Regions from separate parts of the Homo sapiens genome. Here region 1 is linked to region 2. Evidence: promoter capture Hi-C in 16 types of primary human blood cells and fetal thymus (Javierre and others, 2016). All regions are on one chromosome and are shown on one strand. Each heading gives the region's core, a stretch centred on a gene start or on the middle of the fragment in contact. The rest is flanking DNA. Distances are from core to core; before and after follow the strand shown. Region 1 overlaps GLB1L2 (galactosidase beta 1 like 2). Region 2 holds the start of JAM3 (junctional adhesion molecule 3).

Region 1 (5,371 bases), core at 1,288-3,787, 280 kb after region 2:
GCTGGATCAACTTGTCATTCTACATTCAGTTTTTTTTAGGAATTGCCATACCGTTTTCCACAGAAGTTGCACCAAATTACATTCCCACCAGCAATACACAAGCTTTGCAATTTCCCCACATCCTTGCCAACACTTGTTATTTCCTGTTTATCTGGGGAGAGCCATCAGTGGGTGTGAAGTGGTATCTCATGGTGGTTTTGATTTGCATTTCCCTGGTGATGTTGAGCATCTTTCATGTGCTGATTGGTCTTTTGCATATCTTGGAAGAAATGTTTATTCAAGTCTTCTGCTCATTTTTGAATCTAGTTGTTTGTTTTTATGTTGTTGATTATAGGAATTCTTTTTACTTTCTGGAGATCAATTCCTTAACAGGACCTGCCAGGACTGGGTCCTTCGCTTCAAGGCAGCAGGTTCCCTTTTGGCTCAGGGTATGTCTAGAAGTGTCTGGAAGCTAGGGCCTGGAACGAGGGCCTCTTGACTCTGCCGGCGCCCTTTCCTACTGTGGTTGAGCTGGATCCAAGATGCAAGACAAAGTCCTCTTTACTCTTTGCTCTCCTCTCCTTAAGCAGAAGGAAGGAGCCACTTTCGTTGCTGTGAGCTGCGCTACCTGGGCTTGGGGGAGGGATGTGCAAGAACTCCCTTAGCCATGCCAGCTGGTGGCTCCTTAGGCCATGCGCTGTGCTAGTACACTGGCTGTAAGCTCATCCTAGCTCCAGGAGTTGCATAGGAATTGCGGTCTTTGTGTCCTAGACTGCCTTTCATGTTTACCTAGGACTCCAGAGCACTTCAGCCCATGGTGGTGAGGCTTCCCAAGAAACTCAAGTTCCAATCACTAGGGTGGGCAGTTCCTCTCTGGCTAGGGCTGGTCCAAATGCTCCGTCTACGTGGATGCTGGCTGAGCTCAGCATGGCTTTATCCTGTGCTGTGACAAGGCAGCACTGAGTTCAATGTAAAGTTCCCCAGTCACTGTGCTCTCCCTTCCCCAAATGCACAGATCCTCTCTCCTCACCACTTGGCTGCCGCTGGGAGATGGGAGAGGGTGGCATCGGTGGTGTAAGGCTGTCTCTCTTGCCTGCCTTAATGCGTCTTTTGGTGATATGAAGTTAAAACCAGGTACTGTGACGGGTCACTTGAGTTTCGGTTTTTGTCATGGTGCTTTTCTGCGTGCAGATCACTGTTAAAATTTCGTGTTCCAGCAGGACGGATGAACGGTGCAGCCTTCTATTCCTCCATCTTGCTCCACTGTCTTTTATTTTCTTTTAGTATTTTGTTTGTAATGTACAATCAGTGTACAAATATTTCACCTCCTTGATTAAATGTATTCCCAAGTATTTTGTTGTTTTTGATGGTGTCGTAAATGGAATTGTCCCCTGATGGTGGATAAAAACAATGCATTTTTGCACATTGATTTTTTTTATCCTGCAAGCTTACTGAATTATTAGCTAGATAGTTTTTTTTAGGGGTGTGGGGATGTGCACTGTTTTCTGCATTTAAGATCATGTTGTCTGTGAACAGAGATAACTTCTTCCTTTCCAACTTGGTTGCCTTTATTTTTTTCTTGACTAATTGCTCTGGCAGGACTTCCAGTACCGTGTTGAATAGAAGTGCTGAAAGCACGAATGCTTGGTTTGTTCCTGATCGTAGAGGAAAAGTTTTCAGTCTTTCACCAGTGAATATGATGTTGACTGTGGGCTTTCTGTATGGGGCCTTTACTATGTTGAGGTAGTTTCCTTCTGTTCCTAGTTGACTGAGTGTTTTTTATCATGAAAGAATGTTGAATTTTATCACTTTTTTCTGCATCAATTGGGATCATCATGTGGTTTTTCCTCTTAATTTTGTTAATGCGGTATATTACATTGATTGATTCTTTTTCTTTCTTTTTTTTTTTTTTTTTGAGATGGTGGTTCCCTCTTGTTGCTCAGGCTGGAGAGCAATGGCGCTATCTCAGCTCACTGCAACCTCCTCCTCCCAGGTTCAAGTGATTCTCCTGCCTCAGCCTCCTGAATAGCTGGGGTTACAAGCACCTGCCACCATGCCCAGCTAATTTTGTATTTTCAGTAGAGATGGGGTTTTACCCTGTTGATCAGGCTGGTCTCAAACTTCTGACCTCAGGTGATCCACCTGCCTCAGCCTCCCAAAGTGCTGGGATTATAGGCATGAGCCACCATGCCTGGCCTACATTGATTGCTTTTCACATGGCAAATCATCCTCGCATTACAGGAATGAATCCCATTTGATCATGGTTTATAATTCTTTTAATATGCTGCTGAATTAAGTTGGCTAACATGTTGTTGAGGGTTTTGGCATCAGTATTCATCAGGACTGTTAGTCCGTGTTTTCTTTTCTCATAGTGTCTTTTGTTTGTAATAAAAGAAAAAAGTGTCAACTTTTTTTGACACTTCTATATCCAGCAAAACTCAAAAATGAGGGAAAAATTAAGAAATTCCCAAAGAAAAGTGAAAAGAGTTTATTACTGTATTCTACCTTATAGAATAAGGTAGGAAGTGTTCCTTCCCTTTCAATTTTTGGGAAGGGTTTGAGGAAGACTGGCGTTAATTTTTCTTTAAATATTTGGTAGAATTTACCAGTGAAGCCATCTGGTCCTGGACTTTTCTTTGTTGGGAGGTTTTTAGTTACTGATTCAGTGTCCTTACTAGTTATAGGTCTGTTCAGATTTTATATTTCTTCATGATTTAGTTTTGGCATATTATATATTTCTAGGAATTTGTGTGTTTCATCTAGGTTATTTAATATTTAATTTGTTGGCGTACAATTTGTTCATATTCCTCTTCTGTAATCGTTTTTATTTCTGTAAAATCAGCAGTAATAGCCTCATGTTGTTTCTGATTTTAGTTGAGTCATATCTTTTTTCTTAGTTTAGCTGCAGTTTGTCAGTTTTGTTGATCTTTTCAAATAACCAACTCTTGGTTTCATTAATTTTTCTTTATTGTTTTTCTATTCTCTCATTGTCTATCTCTGCTCTAATCTTTATTATTTCCTTACTTCTGCTACCTTTTAGTTTGTTTCCCTTTTTCTGGTTTCTTAAGGTATAAAGTTAAGTTGTTGGTTTGAGACCTTTTGTCTTTTAAATGTATTTATAGCTATAAAATTTCCCTCTTTGCACTGCTTTCACTGTAATTCATAATTTTATTTCCATTTTCATTTTTCTCAATATGTCTTCTTTTTTTTTTTTTTTGAGATGGAGTCTCGCTCTTGTCGCCCAGGCAGGAGTGCAGTGGCATGATCTCAGCTCACTACAACGTCCGCCTCCCAGGTTCAAGTGATTCTCATTACTCACCCTCCCAAGTAGCTGGGATTACAGGTGCCCGTGACCACGCCCGGCTGATATTTGTATTTTTAGTAGAGACGGGGTTTCCCCTTGTTGGCCGGGCTGGTCTTGAACTCCCTATCTCAGGTGATCCGCCCGCCTTGGCCTCCCAAAGTGCTGGGATTACAGGCGTGAGCCACTGCGCCTGGCCTCAATATATTTTCTAATGTCTCTTGTGATTTCCTCTTTGGACTATTGGTGAAGATTTTATTTCCACATACTTGAATTTTTCAGGACTTTTTTGGTTATTGATTTCTAGTTTCATTCCATTGTGATTGGGAAAAATAAAACTTTGTAAGATTTCAATTTTTTAAATTTATTAAAGCTTGAGGCTGGGTGTGGTGGCTCATGCCTGTAATCCTAGCACTTTGGGAGGCCGAGGCAAGTGGAACACTTGAGGTCGGGAGTTAGAGACCAGCTTGGCCAACATGTTGAAACCCATTCTCTACTAAAAAATACAAAAATTAGCCAGGTGTGGTGACGGGCACCTGTAATCCCAGCTACTTGGGAGGCTGAGGCACAAGAATCACTTGAACCTGGGAGATGGAGGTTGCAGTGAGCCAAGATTGTGCCACTGCACTCCAGCCTGGGTGACAGAGCAAGACTCTGTTTTTTTTTAAAAAAGAAAAATTTATTAAGGCTTGTTTTTTTGGCTTACTATATGGTTTATCCTGGAGAGTGTTTTATGTGCCCATGAGAAAAATGTGTATTGTGCTACTTTTGGGTGGAATGTTGTGTATATATATGTTTGGTCCAACTGGTCCATAATATTGTCTAGGTCCTCTATTTGGTTACTAATTTTCTGTCTGGTTACTCTATCCATTATTGATATTCAGATATTGAGTCTCCTACTATTATTGTCTATTTTTCCCTTTAATTTTGCCACTGTTTGGCTCATATACTTTGGAATTCTGGCATTTGGTGCATATATGTTTATAATTGTTATATCCTTTTGGTGAATTGACCCTTTTATCATTATATATATTTTATCATGTCTTTGTCTCTTGTAACAGTTTTTGATATAAAGTCTATTTTGTTTGATATTAGCAAAGCCACCCCTCCTCTTTTGATTACTGTTTGCATAAAATATCTTTTTCCAGCCTTTCACTTCCAACCAATAAATATCCTTAGATCTGAAGTGAGTGTCTTGTAGATAGTATATAGTTGGATATCGGTTTGTTAAAAATCCATTCTGCCAATGTATGTCTTTTGATTGGGGAGTTTAATGTGTTTACATTCAAAGTAATTACTGATAGAGAATCACTTGCTTTTGCCATTTTGTTGCTTTCTGTATGTCTTACAGCTTTTTGTCCCTCATTTCCTTTATGACTGCTTTACTTTGTATCTAGTTGATTTTTTTATAGTGACACTTTTTTATAACGATTCCCTTTACCTTGGGATAAGGTAAAGGATATATAATATCCTAAAGTTGTGACATTCTGTTTTAAATTGATACCAACCTAACTTCAACTGCACACAAAAACTCCTTTACAGTTCTGCCCTTCCACTTTATTTTATTGATGTCACAAATTATGTCTTCATATTGGGTGTACCCATTAACTTAAATTTATAATTATTTTATGTCTTTTAAAATCTTGTAGAAAATAAAAAGCCACATTGTAAAGAAAAATTATAATAATATTTTTATATTTTTTATGTGTCTATCTTTGCTGGAGAACTTTATATTTTCATATAGCTTCAAATTACTCTCTAGCATTTTTTCATTTCAACTTTAGGTGTTTTTTTTCTAGGGAAGGTCTAGTGGTAATGAACTCTCTTAGCTTTACTTTGGGAATTTCTTAATTTTTCCCTCATTTTTGAGTTTTGCTGGATATAGAAGTGTCAAAAAAAAAGTTGACACTTTTTCCTTTCAGCACTTTGACTATATCATCTCATTGCCTTCTGGCCTGAAAATTTTCTGGCTGAGATATCCTTTATAGTCTTATTGAGGATCCCTTGCCTGTGACCAAAACTTTTTCTGGCATTCAAGAATCTCTCTTTGTCTTCAATGGTTTGATTATAGAGTGTCCCTGAGTGGTTCTC
Region 2 (5,779 bases), core at 1,461-3,960:
GCAACCTCCGCCTTCTGGGTTCCAGCGATTCTCCTGCCTCAGTCTCCCAAGTAGTTGGAACTACAGGCATGCATCATGATGCCTGGTTAATTTTTTGTATTTTTAGTAGAGACAGGGTTTCACCATGTTGGCCAGGCTGGTCTCAAACTCCTGAACTCAGGTGATTCGCCCACCTTGGCCTCCTAAAGGGCCTGGATTACAGGCCTGAACCACCGCACCTGGCCCTATCAGTCTTAAGATCTGTTTTAATGTTGATGCTGGTCAGTTGGCCTGAATTCCAAAAGGGTGGAGGGTATAATAAGGCATATCCAACTCCCCGATCATGGCTTAAACTAGTTTTTCAGGTTAACTTTGCAGTGCCTTTGGCTGAGAGGAGGGGTCATTTCAGATTGTTGAGGGGCTTAGCTTTTTTTTTTTTTTGAGACAGAGTCTCACTCTGTCACCCAGGCTGAAGTGCAGTGGCGCAATCTTGGCTCACTGCAACTTCCACCTCCCGGGTTCAAGTGATTCTCCTGCCTCAGCCTCCCGAGTAGCTGGGATTACAGGCGCCTGCCACCATGCCTGGCAAATTTTTGTATTTTTAGTAGAGACAGGGTTTCACCATGTTGGTCAGGCTGGTCTCAAACTCCTGACCTCATGGTCTTCCCTCCTTGGTCTGCCAAAGTGCTGAGATTATAGGCGTGAGCCACCACGCCTGGCCAGGGCTTAGCATTTTATTGTTGGTTTACATTCAGTTCCCCGAGCTCTTTTAAGAAGTGCATGTCTCCCTAGTAAGCCACACCTTAGAAATAAGCATATTCAGATGAGTAATGCTGTGATGGAGGCAGAGCCTCCTCAGCCCTGCTCACGGAATGCTTCCAGGACTTTGCTGCTGGCCTTATTGAGCTCTGATTCCCTTCTGCACAGGGTCAGAGCTCTCCAGGGAACAATGAAACCCTAAGGAAGAGCAGACCACTTCACAGCCACGTGTGTCCTACCCCACTCTGCTGCATCCCTAGTTAGACTTCCATTCCAGGAACTGTCTCAGCTGTTGGTAATGACATGCCGACTCCATCTGCAGAGGAAAATCAATGTCTTACAATGAAGCACCTGCCATCCACTCTCCTAGGAACCTCTGCCCCTTATAGAATATTCATGCAGCCCTTTTTTGTAATCTCGGTCTGAGTTTCAAAAGATTCCCTAGCAGGAAGACCATTTAACAGATAGACCATTTTACAACGCAAACACTGAAAATTCCGCAGGAGAAAAGAGGCACTGGTTTTTGAAAACCGTGCTCTGTCCACAGTCAGACACCATCTCACATTTCCAAGTAACCCAAACAGTTCCTTCAGTTAGGTAAATATGCCTGGCCATGTGACCAGGAGCTAAAGGGAATAATAGGGAAAACAGAGGGCAGAAAAAAATGTCAGTGGGCATAAGACGAATTTTCTTCTTTTTAATTTCTCGATTTTGTGCTTGATAAAGGGAAAGAGGCCACCATTATAAAACAACTTTTACACACTTTTACTTGTGATTTAGTGCATGGTGACCTGGAACATAAAGAAGATTTATGAAAGGAAAGACAGAATCATAGTAGGTAATTGAGTTATTTTTTAATTTTTATTCTGTCTTTATAAGATTTTTGAGAAGGTAATCAATTAACATAAAGATCTGAGCAGTTATAAAGATTTACAAAGAAGATTATACAGTGATGGAAACTGAAGCATATTCTTGGCAACAATCTCAATCTATTTCACGTTTCCCGGCTTTTACATATATAAATTTGGTATACATAATATGTAAATATACTTCTATTTTGCATGAAAACTAAAAATACTAAAAAAGTAGCATGAGTATATGAAAAAGTTAAACATTAAAAATATTAGTTGGAAACTGGCTTATTTTACTAACAATTATATTCAGAATTCTGTTGCTAGACTGCTGTTTCTGGGAACATTGGAGGTGTACTTTCTATACTTGCTAAAATACAAGCTTTTCAAGTATTTTCCATAGTATTAAGTGAGACTTTAAATACTCTTGCTTTTTTAGATCTAATTTCTGCTTTAATTTATCCTTCTCTTCATTTTTCCTGTTTGTCCTCATCTTACCTGTTCTTCCCTGGTTTTACTATCTCCCAGTATTCAGAAATCAGAGCAAATAATTAGTCTGCTTTTCTGCAGAATAAACTATTGGGTATGCCATCATGCTTTTGATCTACCACATAAACAAATTATTTTAGCAAGACATCACTTTTATATGCTGTATAATGTATGTATTGCTTATGTTTTAAGCAGATTTCAGCTCTTTTCCTTCCATCAATTTGGAATTGGGGGCCCAAAAGATGTGAAGGCGATAATGCTTCCAAGATAACTGGGCTGCATCCTTATTTGTAAAATAAGAAATACTTTATTTCCCAAATTTTAAAGGAGTGTTCCTTCTCCGACCTGTTGTGATGGATTTATTCTATAGCTATGGAAATATACCCTGCTTCACTCTTGTACATACTTCTTTACTCTCCTCCCGCCAAGTTCATTGAAAGAGAACCCATGTGCCGGTCCAGAGCATCGCTGCATCCGTAAGCAGCTAGACCTCAGCTTCCTCTGTCACCATGGTGCCGGCTCGGCTGGGCCCGGCGGTCGCCATGGTAACTGGGGCGGGTCGCAGGGTCCTGGCAGGCTGGGCGCATGCGCGCGGGGACTACAAGCCGCGCCGCGCTGCCGCTGGCCCCTCAGCAACCCTCGACATGGCGCTGAGGCGGCCACCGCGACTCCGGCTCTGCGCTCGGCTGCCTGACTTCTTCCTGCTGCTGCTTTTCAGGGGTGAGTTTGCGCGTTTCCGCTGTTGGGAGACTAGGGTCTGGGGGCGACGGAAGCAGAGCGGGCCGAAGCTGCTGGAGCCGGTCCGGGCGAGGATAGCGGTCCTGGCTCCGAGGGCTCCCGGGGTCCCGGGCCGGAGGGGCGGCGCGCGCCCGCGTCCCCGCAGCCAGGGCTGGGACTCGGGCCTGGCTAGGGCGGGGGCCCTGGGACGCCCGGCAGTTGGACCGGGGCGGGGAGCTAATTTGGGATGGGGGGCCCGTCCCAGGCAGTGAGTCGGTCCCGGACAGCCGTCGGACCCCGGGGGCGGGCTCTTCTCGGGCGGGGTCCTGTGCTGGGCGGTGGGCTCATCCCCCGGGTGGGCTCCTCCCAGGCGGGGTCCTGTGCTGGGCGGTGGGCTCATCCCCCGGGTGGGCTCCTCCCAGGCGGGGTCCTGTGCTGGGCGGTGGGCTCGTCCCCGGGGTGGACCCCTCCCGGGCGGTGGGCACGGCCCTCTGGAGGGAGCGCGGCAGCTGCGGCGTGGGCGCTGGAACTTGCTGGAAGACCCTGCGCAGCAGTGCTGTGCTCTCCAGAAGGGACGGTGAGCGGGGGACGTAGCTGAGGACCGGCGAGGCAGAGCTCCGAGGCCTGGCGGGCTGCTTGGTCACAGCCCTCTGGGGATCTGCAGTTCATTTGACTCGACACAAAGGAACTGCTTTTCTTTTACAGAAATAAAATGGATATCAATCCAGTACCTTTTTTGTCTCTGGCCTGGCCGAGGAGACCACGCAGACTCTTATCCGGAAATAGCATTCGGGGCATTTGATCAAGACACACTAATAAACTTGATAGTTTTGTGCATTTTCTTTCCCTCTGTTTGGAATTCTCATTAGATCCACATTTTCCTGGACAGTTGTACAGAGGACTAAAATAGCTTTCCTTTAGTGAGCTTGTACTGTCTACTAGGCACTTTGGAGCCATTATCTCGTTTACTCCTTTCAGCAGCTCTGTGAGATAGGTTTCATTAATCCATTTTCAGAGTCAAGTCTAGTCTGCTTTCCAAGGCTGCATTCTAAGTAGTGAAGCCTCAACTTCATATTTACCTAAAGCAGGACACCACACTCTTCCCCTGGCAGCCATCCGCAGGTAACCAGACCAGGACCTTTTTCGGTTCTTAGATTATTTTATTGTTTGAATTGCCACTGTCATCCCATGATGTTTTCCAGAATATACAAATTAAAACACGGAGGGACTGTTTAGGAGTGAAGGTGGACAGATTTTGGAAAACAAAGCATTCCTGTGTTTGGTGCTTTATGCTAATGGGATGCTCGTGATGGGCTGTGACAAAAGATGAGTTTTAGCGTATAGATTATGTACGCTAAGGCAAAGTCTGTATACTTTGCCTGAAAGTGATTCCCAAAACCAAATGCTGTTGGGAGATAAGTGATCAAAGGCTAGCCAGGGGACAAGGGTGTCAGGAATGTCCAGCACCCGCTGTGTTGGTCACACTGACACTGTCCTATTCACAGCCTGGAACAACTCTCTATTGTTGAAAAGATCTGTTCACGTGAAAGTTTGCAGTTTTTGTTGCAGAAGCATTTGGCAGTTTAGCTCAGGAATGAATTTCAACTTGGTAGTTTGTTAATAAAACTAGAAAATGCAAAGAGCTTCACTTACCCTTAACCTCTGATTTCCTTCCCCTAAGGGACTAGTTTTGTGGCTTTTTTGCTGGTAGGGGCTGGGATTCACATGCAGAGCGTAGGAGGAAGAATCAAATTTTGCAAACTAGTTCTAATGACAAATAATCGAGGTAGTAGGATGTATGAATCCACTTTGAAGGCGTGTAGCTATCTTTTTTTTAGTAGGGGCTCTTTTTCCATTATTTGGTTTATGCTTTAAGCTACCCTAAAACTGTTCTTCCAGAAGTCATGACTACTGTGTCCTTTTTATTTTTTATGATTATTCTCAATTGCTATTACTATTTATTTTCATCTTAAAAATTTTGGTTCTTGATATAACAGCAAACATTTCTTTTGTGGTTACCCTTTGCCAGGCTCTGTTACAAGAATTTAATGTTTGCTAATTTATTTAATCTTGATAACTCTAAGAAGTCGTTACTATTGTTGTGCCCTTTTGTGGATGAGGGAACAGAAGTATGGAGAGATTCAGACCCTTGTCGGGAGTGTTATCCTGTGCGTTTTAAATGGGAAATCCTTCATTATTTGTGTTAATCCAATTTTTAGTTATTTGTATTATTCCATTTGACGGTGGAGTTCTTTTAATGGATCAGTTTAAACAGATTATCAAGTTTTCAACACTATGTGGTTTGTATATAAAATATTCTTTTGTTGACTCATGACAGGTGCAGTTCAGCTTTACAAATGTTATGCCACATGGCTTTTTTGAATGATTGTGTACTCATTAGTGTTAGGTTTCCAAATCTTTGATATTCTAGAGAGAAGTGCCTTATTTAGAATTAAAACAGCAACAGTTTTCATTCTTCAGATAAGACAACTTGTGTGCTGAAGCATATCAAAATCTGAAAATCAAAATTTCTGGGAAATTTTTGAAAAAATGTTTAATTCTTTTATTTGCATCTGTTTGGACTCCAGTAACGTTTTTTAGAATGGCATATTCTTTTATGTTCTAATTCTTAATTATCTGGCAGATATAATCATTGTCAGACTTGTGTGTATGTTTTAAAAAAAACAAAGAACACCTGTCTTGAAAGCATGCAGTACTTTATATCAGCTGCTCATTCCCACATGACTTGTTGATGGGCATTTGTTCTTCAGTGCTTCAGGCTAAGGAGACTGAATGGATAAGTACTAGAGATACTTAATCATAAGTAATTGCAGTATTACATTCAGGCAGAATTATCCACACAACCCCTAAGCTCCATGGAACTTGTTCTTAAACTCCATGGGGTGGGTTTAAATCAGTTCTTTTGAAAGCAACCAGACTTTCCTCAAGTATAAGATGGCCACATAATGTAACAGACGCAGCTA

What was found. The method cuts DNA at HindIII sites, captures the fragments that hold promoters and counts their contacts. A CHiCAGO score of 5 or more calls a contact.
Region 1: a fragment that was not itself captured here is called in contact with the fragment with the promoter of JAM3 in region 2 in 1 of 17 cell types (total CD8 T cells); the score reaches 5.2 in total CD8 T cells.

The regions. Positions count from the first base shown.
Region 1 is chr11:134,349,469-134,354,839 of GRCh38, forward strand. The region is part of intron 5 of GLB1L2 (galactosidase beta 1 like 2); the gene reads left to right. Among named protein-coding and RNA genes, the nearest start is that of GLB1L2, 20 kb to the left of the region's middle. RefSeq lists a silencer at 160-219. The HindIII fragment of the contact is 2,227 bases long and covers 1,425-3,651 here.
Region 2 is chr11:134,066,362-134,072,140 of GRCh38, forward strand. JAM3 (junctional adhesion molecule 3) reads left to right here and starts at 2,711. Exons shown (of 9, transcript NM_032801.5): 1 at 2,711-2,798. The coding sequence starts at 2,723. RefSeq lists a silencer at 2,516-2,705. The HindIII fragment of the contact is 4,850 bases long and covers 1,970-5,779 here.